Linked DNA regions of Homo sapiens: region 2 is linked to region 1. Evidence: promoter capture Hi-C in 16 types of primary human blood cells and fetal thymus (Javierre and others, 2016). All regions are on one chromosome and are shown on one strand. The core of a region is centred on a gene start or on the middle of the fragment in contact, and the rest is flanking DNA. Distances in the headings are between cores, read along the strand shown.

The links. Contacts are between HindIII fragments. The CHiCAGO score rates a contact against its expected background, and 5 or more counts as called.
Region 2: a fragment that was not itself captured here is called in contact with the fragment with the promoter of KRTAP1-4 in region 1 in 2 of 17 cell types (M2 macrophages and endothelial precursors); the score reaches 6.4 in M2 macrophages.

What each region holds. Positions count from the first base shown.
Region 1 is chr17:41,026,605-41,034,020 of GRCh38, reverse strand. It overlaps KRTAP1-4 (keratin associated protein 1-4), which reads left to right and starts at 3,826. Exons shown (of 1, transcript NM_001257305.2): 1 at 3,826-4,670. The coding sequence starts at 3,943. The coding sequence ends at 4,308. KRTAP1-5 (keratin associated protein 1-5) reads left to right here and starts at 6,813. Exons shown (of 1, transcript NM_031957.2): 1 at 6,813-7,416. The coding sequence starts at 6,866. The coding sequence ends at 7,390. It overlaps KRTAP1-3 (keratin associated protein 1-3), which reads left to right. Exons shown (of 1, transcript NM_030966.2): 1 at 1-137. RefSeq lists an enhancer at 4,187-4,736. The HindIII fragment of the contact is 2,506 bases long and covers 2,670-5,175 here.
Region 2 is chr17:41,248,689-41,256,104 of GRCh38, reverse strand. KRTAP9-4 (keratin associated protein 9-4) reads right to left here and starts at 6,418. Exons shown (of 1, transcript NM_033191.3): 1 at 5,452-6,418. The coding sequence starts at 6,384. The coding sequence ends at 5,920. It overlaps KRTAP9-9 (keratin associated protein 9-9), which reads right to left and starts at 721. Exons shown (of 1, transcript NM_030975.2): 1 at 1-721. The coding sequence starts at 719. The coding sequence ends at 210. RefSeq lists an enhancer at 6,137-6,691. The HindIII fragment of the contact is 1,395 bases long and covers 3,565-4,959 here.

The DNA.
Region 1 (7,416 bases), core at 2,577-5,076:
CGACGAGACCATGGAAGAGCCATCTGTCCTTCTCAGGACACTCACTTCCTGTATCCCACCGTCCTGCAAATTGCACCCCCTATGAAAGAGGAATAATATACCAAGGTCTAATAAATTTTAACTATTGGTGCAACAAACATATCTTTTTTTTTTCATTGAGTGTACTCAGGATGTATATTTCATAGAATGTCATATGAAAAACTTTAATCTGCTTTTGATATCCCTTCTCTTCTAATACCACATTAGGAAATTTGTTATCCAGAGGTCCAGTGGAGGTTAATGACCATAAAAACATAGAGTAAGTGTAGTTATTTAGGGCCTCAGAAATGGCAAAGGCTCTGTTACCATAACTTAACCTTACACAGTGCTTTCACAACCAGGAAGTTACAGAAATCAAAATCTCTGGCTGGGTACGGTGGCTCACACCTGTAATCCCAGCATTTTGGGAGGCCAAGGTAGACAGATCACGAGGTCGGGAGTTTGAGATCAGCTTGGCCAACATGGTGAAACCCCATCTCTACTAAAAAAAATAAATTGCATTTCTATATACTAACCATGAAAAATCTGTAAGGAAAATTTTAAAAACAATTCCATCAAAAGAATAAAATACTTATGGCCGGGCATGGTGGCTCATGCCTGTAATCCCAGCACTTTGGTAAGCTGAGGTGGGCAGATCACCTGAGGTTAGGAGCTCAAGTCCAGCCTGGCCAATATAGTGAAACCCTGTCTCTACTAAAAATACAAAAATTAGCCAGGCATGTTCGTGGATGCCTGTGGTCCCAGCTACTGGGGAGGCTGAGGCATGAGAATTGCTTGAACCCAGGAGGTGGAGGTTACAGTGAGCCAAGATTGTGCCACTTCACTCCAGCCTGGGTGACAGAGTGAGACTCCATTTCAAATAATAATAATAATAATAAAATAAAGAATAAAATACTTAGGAACAAACTTAGCCTTGGAGGGGAAAGACTCGTACACCAGAAACTACAAAATGTTACTGAAAGAAATTAAAGAAGACACAAATAAATGAAAAGACATCCTGAGATCATGGATTATAGGATTTAATATTGTTAAGATGTCAATACTACCCAGAGAATCTACAGATTTAACGCAATCCCTATAAAAATCCCAATGATGTTTTTGCAGAAATTTTAAAAAAATCCATCCTAAAATACATATGAAATTAGAAGGGGTCCTATATAGCCAAAACAATCTTAAAAAAGAACAAAGTTGGTCTCACATTTTCCTGTTTCAAAATTTACTGTAAAGCTACAGTAATCATAACAGTGTGATACTGATATAAAGACAGATATATAAAGCAATGGAAAAGAACAGAGAGCCTAGAAATAAACCCTCAAATACACATATGGTTAAATGAGTTCATTTATTTATTTATTTGAATTGACAAAAATTATATGTATTTATTGTGTACAACACATTTTTTTGGAATATGTATACTTCGTACAATGGCTAAATCAAACTAATTAACATATGCATTACCTCACATAAGTTTTTTTGTAGTGAAAACACAAAATCTACTCTCTTAGCAATTTTCAGGACTGTAACATATTGTTATGAACTATAGTCTCTATGTTGTACAATAGATCTCTTGAATTTATTCCTCTTATCTAACTGAAATTTTGTAATCCTTTGACCAACATCTTCCCAACACACTCCACCACCACCCTACCCCCGGTAACCACCATTCTACTTTCTACTTCCATGAATTCAACTTTTTCTTTTTTTTGAGGTTTTTTTGTTTTTATTATACTTTAAGTTCTAGGGTACATGTGCACAACTTGCAGGTTTGTTGCATATGTATACATGTGCCATGTTGGTGTGCTGCACCCAATAACTTGTCATTTACATTAAGTTCCACTTGTAAGTGAGAAAGTGCAATATTAGTCTTTTTCTTTGTCTGACTTATTTCACTTAGTATAATGTTCTCAAGTTTAATCTGTTGCCCCAAATAGCAGGATTTCCTTCTTTTATGACCAATAATATTCCAGTGTGTGAGTGTGTGTGTGTGTATGTGTGTGTGTATCACATTTTCTTTATCCACTCATTTAATGATGGACATGGACACTTAGGTTGCTTCCATATCTTGGCTATTGTGAGTAATGCTGCAATGAACATGGGAATGCAGATGTCTCTTCAAAATACTGATTTACTTTCCTTCGGGTATATACACAGAAGTGGGATTGCTTGATTATATGACAGTTCTATTTTTAATTTTCTGATGAACCTTCATATTGTTTTCCATAATGGCTGTACTAATTTACATTTCCACCAACAGTGTGCCAGAGTTCTCTTTTCTCCACTTCCTCTCCAACACTTGCTATCTTTTGTCTTTTTGATAATAACTATCTAATATGTGTGAGACGATATCTCATTGTGGTTTCAATTTGCATTATCCGATGATTGGTGATTTTGAAAATTTTTCATATACCTGTTGGCAATTTGTAGATTTTTTTTGAGAAATGTCTATTTAGATTTTTTGCCCATTTTTCAATTACGTTATTTGTTTTCTTACTACAGGTATTGAGTTGTTTGAGTTTCCTCTATACTTTGGATATTAACCCTTTATCAGATATGTGGTTTATAAATATTTTCTCCCATTCAGCGGTTTGCGTCTTCACTCAGTTTAGTGTTTTATTGGCTGTGCAGAAGCTTTTTAGTTTGATGTAATCCCACTTGTCTATTTTTGCTGATGCTTTTGGATTCATGTTCACAATATCACAATATTGGCCAGGCAAAAGTCATGGAGTTTCCTCTGTTTTCTTCTTATAGTTTTATCATTTTGAGTCTTTCTTACATTTCAGTCTTTTAATCCATTCTAAGTTGGTTTTTGTATATAATGTGAGACAATGGTCTAATTTCATTTCTTCTGAATGTGAATGTGGTCAAATGATTTTCAACAAGGGTGACAAGACTATTTACAAATGGTTAAGATGGTTAATGTAAATGGTTCATAAATTTTATGGTATGTATATTTTACCACAATTAAAAATTTGTAACTATAAACATGTGTAGGAGACCCAAACTTTTCTGAAATAGAAGATATATATGTATATATGCTGGTTTATATTTGCAGAAGCAAGGATAAAGGTGTCAAAGAATGTGCACCAAATTCTTAATATTGATTACCTCTAGAGCATTAGTTTTGGAAGAGATGTGTGCATCTTCCAGGAAGGGAAAAGACACTAATTTTTCTTTATATACCTCTGTACTCTTTGACTTGTTACAATGTGTACTCATTACTAGCACATATGTTTAATTTAATAGAGTCAGAAAACAATCTACAAGCAAAAGTCATTAAAGATTTTAGTTAGCAATTTGTACATTCACTATTACTGAAGGCAAGAATATTAGATAGAGCTCTGAGGATCCTATAACTTGCACAAATTGATCATAGAAAGGCATACTTGGTTTGAAAGTTGATACATCAGGTTGTAGTTCATGTTTTGATGACACTAATGTTAGTCTTTCCAAGTCTGGACAAATTGTTTATAAAATCATGATCATAGTTAAGTGACCATTTAAGGAAAAATGATCAGTTAAGATAAATTCTGCCTAAAGGTTATCAAAGGACAACTATGACAAAACGTGCCAGGGCGACACTTGGCTCAAGGCTAGTCTGTCATGTGACTTGCATAAAGAGGCACTTCGGTGCTTGGCTTCCATGATGAGCCTTCACTTCGCCCAGAGGGCAAAGAAGAAACATAATGAGACTTAATTGTACAATGGAAAAAGGCTATTGAAATGCTATTTATAACTTTATAAACACCTCAGGTATTAGCCAGAGACTCACACTGAAATTGACATCAAGAAAAGGTGTTGGGTAAATATGCAGCTCTAGGGAACATATCAAAGGACAGATATAGAAGGTACAGCCCAAACTCAGAAACCTCTCTTAACACAGCTCTCAACCCAACTCCTGACACCATGGCCAGCTGTTCCACCAGTGGGACCTGTGGCTCCAGCTGCTGCCAGCCAAGCTGCTGTGAAACTAGCTGCTGCCAGCCAAGCTGCTGCCAGACCAGCTCCTGCGGAACCGGCTGTGGCATTGGTGGTGGCATTGGCTATGGCCAGGAGGGCAGCGGTGGATCTGTGAGCACCCGTATCAGGTGGTGCCACCCAGATTGCCACGTGGAGGGCACCTGCCTGCCCCCCTGCTACCTGGTAAGCTGCACACCCCCATCCTGCTGCCAGCTGCACCACGCCGAGGCCTCCTGCTGCCGCCCGTCCTACTGTGGACAGTCCTGCTGCCGCCCAGCCTGCTGCTGCCACTGCTGTGAGCCCACCTGCTAAAAGCCAGGTTGCTGATCGCTTAAGAATGAAAGGGGAAGCACAGCAAAATTGTGCTGATTTCTGAAGAACTGTTCGATTTTACTTGGATGCTAAGTACCATGATGTTGTTAAGCTGCTCAGAGATAATGAAACTCCTAGTTAGGACACTGTGGATGTGCCGAATTCACTTACTGAAAGATGTATCAATCAGTGTTCTGGATAGCTTGCGTTGCTTGAGCAGAGGACCAGGATGGAATAGTTCATCATTTCAGTGACATCTCTGCTCCCCCAACTCTCTCTTGATGCTCATGCATCTTCAGACCTGGTTTTTCCTTGAATATCTCTGATTAATCCAAATAAAATGTTTTAATGTGCAAAGCAAACTGAGTTATGTCCTCCTTCTACCTTTAAACATGTCTTCTTGTAGCTGGTATTCAAGAGTGGATTTGCAATTTGATAATAATACCAAGGCATAACCATAAAGTCTAAACCAGAAAGATTAAATACAAAGTAAATTATGCTTGAATCCATCAGCTTAAAAATGCTCCATGAATTAAAGAATTTTTATAGTTCAAATATTTACATGCTCTAATCTATTATGATTAGGTCTAGACCAATAAAGGTTGACCTTTAGCTAAAATGTTAAGGTTGATCAAAGCTATTGATTTCTATCTAAATGTAATTCTACCATCTTTTGTCTCCTTCCATTTAATATACTAAATGTTCTCCTTCATTTATGCCCCAAAATCTAAAGAAATTGCATTACCTTCTAAATAGATTTAAAAATAGCTACTAGATACTACCTATTTTCCAAGAGAATTTAGGTTTAATTTCTACACCTTAGCCTTTCACATTCTTCCCACTGATCCTTGAATTGCTCTCTAAGCTTCAACTCCCACTATTCACCTTCATTTGATGTACGTATGCATAAGGTGTATCTTTGGTCTAAATGATAGTAGAAGAAACAGCTATAGAGAGCACCCGCTGAGTTCTACCATTGCCATTTGTCAGACAGAAGTGTTAGAAATCTGAAACAGCTCGATTATATTTTGCACTTTGCAACCCAACTTAAAAGATATTCTCTTAAGAAGTTAACACGCTGGACACGGTGGCTTACGCCTGTAATCCCAGCACTTTGGGAGGCTGAGATGGGTGGATCACGAGGTCAGGAGATTGAGACCATCCTGACTAATATGGTGAAACCCAGTCTTTACTAAAAATACAAAAAAAAAATTAGTCAGGTGTGGTCGTGGGTGCCTGCAGTCCCAGCTACTTGGGAGGCTGAGGCAGGAGTATGGCGTGAACCTGGGAGGCAGAGCTTGCAGTGAGCCAAGATCACGCCACTGCACTCCAGCCTGGGCAACAAGCAAGACTCTGTCTCAAAAAAAAAAATTAACACAACCTAGAACAAAACAAAACATATTTTACCATTTAATTTTTAAATTCTTCATTAGGCATTAGAGTGTAATACACAAAATACAATAGGATGCAAATATAGAAAGAAACACGTTTTCCACATTATTTACAAGCTCCCAGAACTTACCTCTATATTTAATTGGTAGCAATGATGGATTACACACAAAATTATGCAATTTCCAAGAGGAATAAAGTAGATGGCAGTACATTTTTCAAAGTGTCATAACTCCTAGATATTTTTTCCCGAGCCCGGTTCCACTACTAAATCCAAAAAATAAAATAAAATAAACCAAAAAACACATTTCCTAGTCTCTTTACAGCAAATAACAAGACTCTTTCATGAGAAGTACTACAGCTTGAAAGTTCTCTTTAATCATGTTTGAGTGGTATTGATATCCATGAATCAAGCCTTTTACTCCACCTATTCAATAAACATTTATTGAATCAGATTCAGTAAACATTTATTAAGGTTCTACCACAAACTAAGGACTCTGCTGGATACCTTCCTAAATACTATGTCAGTTTGGTTCCCAAGAACAGATTTCTGGTCTGGAACAGGAATAATAGTCACACATTCCAAATTGGTTGAAATCAAAGGAACTATAATCGGTAATTCAATAAGACATTGGAACAAAAAAAGGTGAAATCTGCGAATTATGTATGACCAAAGGTATTCCTTCAGTTCAGTAGATATCCAGATATCCAAAATTCAATAAAATTTAGTCTATATATCTAGGAGGAAAAAATAATAGTTAAATATAACAGCACAATTATTACTCTTAGCCTTAGAGGTATGGATAGATTGTCACGTGGAATAACTATTATGTAAAATGAGAGCATTCATTTGGACTAAAATGGAAGTACTCTTTGAACATGGGAAACCACAAACATATTCCAAAGAGCAAAGGACTGATATGAGGAGTCCAGAAGAAACTATAAAACAGTAATTTCTAAACTATTGCTCATAATGTGTCACAAGTATTTCAACATAAGCCAATCAGAGATCCACGGAGTAACAAATTTAAACAAAAACAAAGAAAATATGTTAACAATTTTGTAAACAGCAGCTGGTTCAGATATATAAAAGGACCAACGTGGAAGTCACCACCAAACCTCAGAAACTCCTCCAAGCAACCTAACTCTTAACCCAACTTCTGACACCATGACCTGCTGCCAGACCAGCTTCTGTGGATATCCCAGCTTCTCCATCAGTGGGACCTGTGGCTCCAGCTGCTGCCAGCCAAGCTGCTGTGAGACCAGCTGCTGCCAGCCACGCAGCTGCCAGACTAGCTTCTGCGGATTTCCCAGCTTCTCAACCAGTGGGACCTGCAGCTCCAGTTGCTGCCAGCCAAGCTGCTGTGAGACCAGCTGCTGCCAGCCAAGCTGCTGTGAGACCAGCTGCTGCCAGCCAAGCTGCTGCCAGATCAGCTCCTGCGGAACTGGCTGTGGCATTGGTGGTGGCATCAGCTATGGCCAGGAGGGCAGCAGTGGAGCTGTGAGCACCCGTATCAGGTGGTGCCGCCCAGACAGTCGTGTGGAGGGCACCTACCTACCCCCCTGCTGTGTGGTGAGCTGCACGCCCCCATCCTGCTGCCAACTGCACCATGCCCAGGCCTCCTGCTGCCGCCCGTCCTACTGTGGACAGTCCTGCTGCCGCCCAGTCTGCTGCTGTGAGCCCACTTGCTGAAAGCCAGTTTGCTTATTTTCAATTGC
Region 2 (7,416 bases), core at 3,013-5,512, 220 kb before region 1:
GATTCACAAGGTATAAGAAAAAGAGAATCAGGATGAAGTATTCTGCCCTCCCTCAAGCTGATTCACAAGATTTTAAATATGCAGAGAATTCATAAAAATTTGGGTGAGAACATGGTTGCTGTCAGCAGTAAGGTAAATTAGTCCTCCAAAAGATAAGTCAGTTGAGCAGAAGGTTGTTGTGTGAAGATGGTTGTTCTCTTGGGACTTGATCAGCAGCAAGAAGGCTGGCAGCAGCTGGACACACAGGTGGGCTGGAAGCAAGTGGTCCTGCAGCAGGTGGTCTCACAGCAGGCGGGGCGGCAGCAGGGCTGGCAGCAGCTGGATCCACAGCTCTGGTTGAGGCAACCAGGCAGGCAGACAGTCGTCGGGTAGTAGCAGGTTCTTCTGCAGTACACAGGTGCACAGGAGCTGCTCTGGCCACAGCTGGACCCACAGCTGGTTTGGCCACAGCAGCTGGACCCACAGCAGATGGGCTGGCAGCAGGTTGTGCTGCAGCAGGAAGGCTGGCAGCAGCTGGTCAGACAGGTGGGCTGGCAGCAGGTGGTCCTGCAGCAGGTGTTTTGACAGCAAGCTGGGCGGCAGCAAGGCTGGCAGCAGCTAGACACACAGCAGGAGGGCTGGCAGCAGGGTGTGCTGCTGCAGGTGGTCACAGTGGTGGGCTTCCAGCAGGTGGTCCTGCAGCAGGTAGGCTGACAGCAAGGGGAGCAACAGTGGGTCATGGTGTCAGGGGTGGAGGGTGGGTTTCTGTTCAGAGGTGAGTTTCCCAGAATCTGATGACCCCTTGCAATCTGGACCTTTTATACACCTGGCTTCCAAAGTTTCCACCAATCAGCAGGACTTTTCCTTGTTTCTGTTTACACTGTTTTCCACAGTCCCTTTGGGATTGTCAAAGGGGAAATTGTTTCTGAAAACTTATGAATCTTTTGAAAGTAAGGGTTTAATCTGTTTCTTAATTGTGAATTACTCATAGAAACTTCCTTTCAGATAAAAGGAAGCCCATCTCATCATCAGCATCATTCCTGCTCTGACCATCATCTAGTCATGTGATAGTTCTTGGTGATCTGGGAAGCTCAGGAAATTCTCTCTGCCCAGCCTCACAGTTGGCTGTATGTAGACTGGGAAGTGTCTGTGGGGAGAAGCATGATGCTGATATATTTACGGTGACAAAATGAATCCATGCCTGGGCCCAAGACAATTCACCCACCAAATTCTGACTCAAGACTAACAGGCATCTCTGTGCAATCCTCACCACCTGTGTCTTTCAGTTATTTGAACGTCACTTGGGAAGAGGGTGTCTGTCACAGTGTGTTCCATGTGGCAGAGCCGATCGAGAGCAGGTGGATGCAGAGAAATCCACTGGGATTTAGACAGCATCAAGCAATCTACGCCCAGGGGTGAGCATTCATTCTCACTTGTCTGCGAGTGTGGGGATTACCGGGATGAGAATGTAGAACTTTCTATGACATAACTGCTTGAGATTCAGGCCAACGTGCATAAGCTGTGGCTCTAGCCATAACCCTGGTTACTAGCACAGTCAGTATCATTTCTTCTCTTTCTTTCTTAGACGGAGTCTTTCTCTGTCGCCTAGACTGGAGTGCAGTGGCGTGATCTCGGCTCACTGCAACGTCTGATTCCTCGATTCAGGGGATTCACCTGCCTCAGCCTCCCGAGTAGCTGCCACTACAGATGCCGGCCACCATGCCCGGCTAATTTTTGTATTTTTAGTAGAGAGAGGGTTTCACCATATTTGTCAGGCTGGTCTCGAACTCCTGACCTTGTGAGCTGCCTGCCTCGGCCTCCCAAAGTGCTGATATTACAGGCATGAGCCACCATCCACAGCCTCTCCTTCTATTTAATGAATTAATTAGATGAGTTGAGATGACACCTGATTCATCGTGGAGTTCTAACATGTTTAAAACATTTTCTAGGAATTACCATTCATTTCAGAGGAATGCAAATTATTAATTTCCAACTTGATACATTATTATATTGTAAATACATCTATGTCCCCATTACATCTATGTTAGAAAATAGAAATTAATCCCATTCTCTCCCAATTATATCCTCTTACTCATTCCCAAAGACAGCTAATCACTCTGTCAAGTTGTAATCCTATAGCTAACTTTTGGCTTTAAAAAATATTCATGTAAATAAAAATTACAGTATTTGCTTCTCTATTTCTTTAGCATAATCAAAAGTAATCGTTATTGCATAGTCACTTTGGACTCTTCATGTCAGGAGAGCAGCAGACAGAGAAAGGAGTTACTATTTGGTGAGGGGTAATTATCCTCAAGCCACATAGTGTAGGAGAATGTATCTATAGCTCAGGTGATTTACTGAGTATATTAACTTACTAGCAGTGCCATGGTAAATTACTGCAAACCAAGTGGCTTAAATTTATTTTTTCACAGTTCCAAAGGCCTCTAGTCTGGAATTAAGCTGTTGGCAATGTTGTTTTCATCTGAAGCCTGCGAGGGAAGTATCTGTTCCAGGTCTCTCTCCTTGACTTGTAGATGTCTATCATTTCCATGTGTGTTTGACATAAGTTTTCTACTATATGCATACTGTCTCTGAATTTCCCCCTTGTGTATAGATATCAGTCATATTTAATCAGAAGCCTAATTGTTTCCAATATGACCTTTTCTTATCACATAACATTTTAAATGATTCTATTTGAACATGAATTTTGGAGGACACAAATTAACCCATAACACTGCAGAATCTCATAGTGTGTCCATGCCCAGTGATAACCACAAAACAGTAAAAACAGTAATCACAGCGGACAGTGGTATAGTAACCAGGGGCTCAGACCCTTCAGGAAGGATGCTCTGAGCTACTCCCTCAGGCAGTTATCTAGACAAACAAGAGTGCTGGCCAGGGGTGAAGGGAGAATAGGACTGGTGGTAATTAATGGAGCTTATGAATCTCAGGTGCACTGTATTATAGCAGCAGTAAGTGTAGCTTATTTCATTGGCCTTCATTTTATATCTCACTTCCTCCCCCAGCTTTTCGTTTCCTTCTTCATTTTTCTTTCTTTCTTTTTCTTCAATCACCCCTTCTCCTTCCTTCCTTCATGTTTTTTTTTGGTTCCTTTATCCCTTCCCTTCCCTTTCCTTTTCCTTCCTTTCTTCCTCCCTTCTCTTTTTCTTTTTTGTTTCTTTTCTCTTTCCTCCTCTCATCTTCTGTTCCTTCTCTTCCTCTCCTCTGCTTCTTCCTTCTTTTAGAGCTTGTGGCTCTCCATCACATTTAAACAGCAAAGATTTGACTTGAGTGGAGCTAATTGTAGATCTCAGACAAGTTTTCGTAAGTGCGCCCATATATCTTGCATGTTAGTGTGCTTGGATTAATTTCCATCTGTCAGAGTCCGCATCTCTGTGGCCAAGGGCTCTTGTATTGCAGCTGTAGAAAGTCATGCCACCTGTGAATGCAACACAGAGAAAAACACTCAACCAATGATTCTGGAGAGCTGATTTATAAAGACTCTAGCTTCCTCATTCCTGAAGTAGGATAATTCTAGCTGTGTGTTTTTCATCATTTCTGATAGTTTTCCCTTTAGTTTAAGCTTTAGTTGGTGACTGTGATACTGACTTTATAGTGTACCCTTTTCTGTATCACTTCCCCAATTCCTACCGGTGTGATCTGCACTTCCCAGTAAACTAGTTTCACTGGAATCTTTTCTTCAAAGTCTTTTCGGGAGAAACTAATCTATGACATTATGTTAACTCCCTCAGCCTCAATTTTCTTATCTCTACGCTGGGAATATTAATACCTATTCTGAAAGTTTGTTAAAGAGTTAATAATAATGTACACAAAGTGTTTAGCAAATACCCATCCTATAGCAGGCAATCCAGAACATATTAGTGTTTCTTGTTCAGAAAATTACCAATTTTAATGTTGAAGATAGGAATATTTTTGTAATAATTAACTAGATCAACTAAATACTTTTTTTCCTAGCTGTATTGAGGTATAATTGACAAATAAAAGTTGTATCTATTTCAGGTATACAAGGTGATGTTCTGATATATATATTCCTTGTGAATAATATGTTTATTAGGTCACGAAGCTACCATTTCCTTTTAATTTTTGTGGTGTGAACATTTAAGATCTACCTTCTTGGTAAATTTCAGGTATATGATAAAGTGTTATTAACTATAGTCACATTACTGTACAGTAGACATGCTGAACTTATTCATCTTTCATAAATGATGCTAGTCAAAGAGAATGTCCTAGTTTTCATCTCCTTTACTTCAACCCTGAACGATGATCACAGTAAGTGGCCGTTGTCTCTTAGCCAAGTCTTCAGAGCATTCTAGATTCACAGTCTCAGAAGTTGGCATCTGTCATGGAAATCTACATTTTTAGCTGATCAGAGGTAATTCTAGCACTCCAGTGCTGGTAGGAGGTCCGAAGAAGGTGACCCAGGTCCCCAACTTTTATATTTCTCTCAGAGCCTGTATCAATCAATCTTTCCATGGGTGAATGCTTAGCTTACATCGGTTCAGGACCCAAAGCACTAACCTCTGTCTATTATGACTTCTATGAATGCACAAGTTCTACTTTGCTCCTTTCTTACATTCTTCTGATTTCCCTGGAAACACAAGTTTTTCATTTCTTTGAATGCTTCCTATTGGCCTCACAAAATGCAGAAGGCTGTTTCATTCCCTTACTTGGCTCAGAGATTATGGATTGTGCCAAGTCTTACATGCCCATTGTGTAGTTTCTCAATTCTCAGCTTTGTTCTTACATAATTTCCCTCATAACATTACAATTAGGGGACAAATTGTCTTAATGTGGCAAAATGTATGGTCTGCATTTTACAAGAAATAACTTAGTTTCATTTACTTCATCAATAGGTATTCAGGAGATGAAGGCTGTATAAGTATTTTATTTACATGATATTGACAACAAGTTTCTTCAGATGAGACTCTCTCTCATGAGTCCACAATAAATTCCCAAGCTTTTTTTGATGTAGATGAATTGAATGAGTGGCTGGTCAGAGGCTGAGACAAAAAGAGCTCCCTGCATTCAGGGCAGCCATTAAATGCAGTCCCTGCTGCCATATCACGCAGCTGTTTCTCACTGAGGTGTGGGAAATTGGGAATTTTTTGTAAACAAAAACGTTATCTGCAAATATAAGAGATTATTTGTCCTATTGTTAAAAAAACTCAAGTATATGACTTGCTAATACTTACTTCCAATGTCATTTCTACTATATTGAGAGTTAAATGTAAGTGTCCTTGGGCAGAAAGAGAGGACCTCAGCTTGGACAAGAGTCTGCCCTTTACTAGCTACATAACATCACACATTAAATTGTTCTCAGCTGAAAAAATGGAGGTAATAACACACGACCATCTGTTTTGAGAATCAAATTGGATAATACCTATGGTATGTGATATGTGTGTAAATCTCATATCAGGAATGCTTTCATATAAAACAAAACACCATATGAGATGAGGATGGTTCAGAGTTTATTCAGAAACATATAGCTAAGAATCTCTGCTGGTAGCAGAAACATAACCCAAAGTTATGAAAAGAAGAAAGAAGGATACAAGAACCATGAGGAGGATATTGAAAACAAAAATATGATTGCAAAGATTATTGATCAGTTGCAGAAACCTAAATTCCTTAGAAGCAGAGAATGAAGCTCTTGACTTTTGAGTCAAAGCTGAGACCATGACTCAAAATTGAGAACACACGAAGCTGGCACATGATCCACAAAGTGTAAGGAAAAAGAGAATCAGGATGAAGTATTCTGCCCTCCCTCAAGTAGATTCCCAAGATTTTAAACAGGTAGAGAATTCATAAAAATTTGGGTGAGAGCATGGTGGCTGTCAGCAGCAAATTAAATTAGTCCCCCAAAAGATAAGTCAGTTGAGCAGAAAGTTGTTGTGTGAGGATGGTGGTTCTCTTGGGACTTGATCAGCAGCAAAAAGGCTGACAGCAGCTGGACACACAGGTGGGCTGGAAGCAAGTGGTCTCACAGCAGGCTGGGCGGCAGCAGGGCTGGCAGCAGTTGGAGCCACAGCTCTGGTTTAGGCAACCAGGCAGGCAGACAGTTGTGGGGTAGTAGCAGGTTCTTCTGCAGTACACAGGTGCACAGGAGCTGCTCTGGTCACAGCTGGACCCACAGCAGGTGGGCTGGCAGCAGGGTGTGCTGCAGCAGGAAGGCTGGCAGCAGCTGGTCACACAGGTGGGCTGGCAGCAGGTGTTTTGACAGCAAGTTGGGCGGCAGCAAGGCTGGCAGCAGCTGGAAACACAGCAGGAGGGCTGGCAGCAGGGTGTGCTGCTGCAGGTGGTCACAGTGGTGGGCTTCCAGCAGGTGGTCCTGCAGCAGGTGGTCCTGCAGCATGTAGGCTGACAGCAAGGGGAGCAACAGTGGGTCATGGTGTCAGGGGTAGAGGGTGGGCTTCTGTTCAGAGGTGAGTTTCCCAGAATCTGATGACCCCTTGCAATCTGGACCTTTTATACACCTGGCCTCCAAAGTTTCCACCAATCAGCAGGACTTTTCCTTGTTTCCGTTTACATTGTTTTCCCAGTCCGTTTGTGATTCTCAAAGGGTAGTTGTTTCCTTAAGGTTAAACAGATTAAGGTTTAATCTGTTTCTTAATTGTGAATTACTCATAGACACTTTGTTTCAGATAAAAGGAAGGCAATCTCATCATCAGCATCATTCCTGTTCTGACCATCATCTGGTCATGTGATAGTTCCTGTTGATCTGGGAGGCTCAGGAAGTTCTCTCTGGCCAGCCTCATGTTTGGCTGTATGTAGACTGGGAAGTGTCTGTGGGGAGAAGCATGATGCTGATATATTTACAGTGACAAAATGAATCCATGCCTGGGCCCAAGACTAGTCACCCACCAAATTCTGACTCAAGACTAGCAGGCATCTCTCTGTGCAACCCACACCACCTGTCTTTCAGTTCTTTGAACATCACTTGGGAAGAGGGTGTTTGTCACAGTGTGTTCCATGTGGCAGAGCAGATCGAGAGCAGGTGGATGCAGATAAATCCACTGGGATTTAGACAGCATCAAGTAATCTATGCCCTGAGTGACCATTCATTCTGACTTGTCTGTGAGCGTGGCGATTCCAGAATGAGAATGTAGGACTCTCTATGGCATAAATGCTTGAGATTCAGGCCAACCAGCATGTGCTGTGGCTCTAGTCGCAACCCGGTTACTAGCACAGTAAGCAGCATGTCTTCTCTCTCTCTCTCTATTTCTTTTTAATGAAGGAATTAGATGAGTTGAGATGATGCCTGATTCATCATGGAGTTCTAACATGTTTAAAACATTTTCTAGGTATACCATTCATTTGAGAAGAATGCAAATTATTAATTTTCAACTTGATATAGTATTATATTGTAAATACATCTGTGTCCCCATTACATCTATGTTAGGAAATAGAAATTAATTCCAT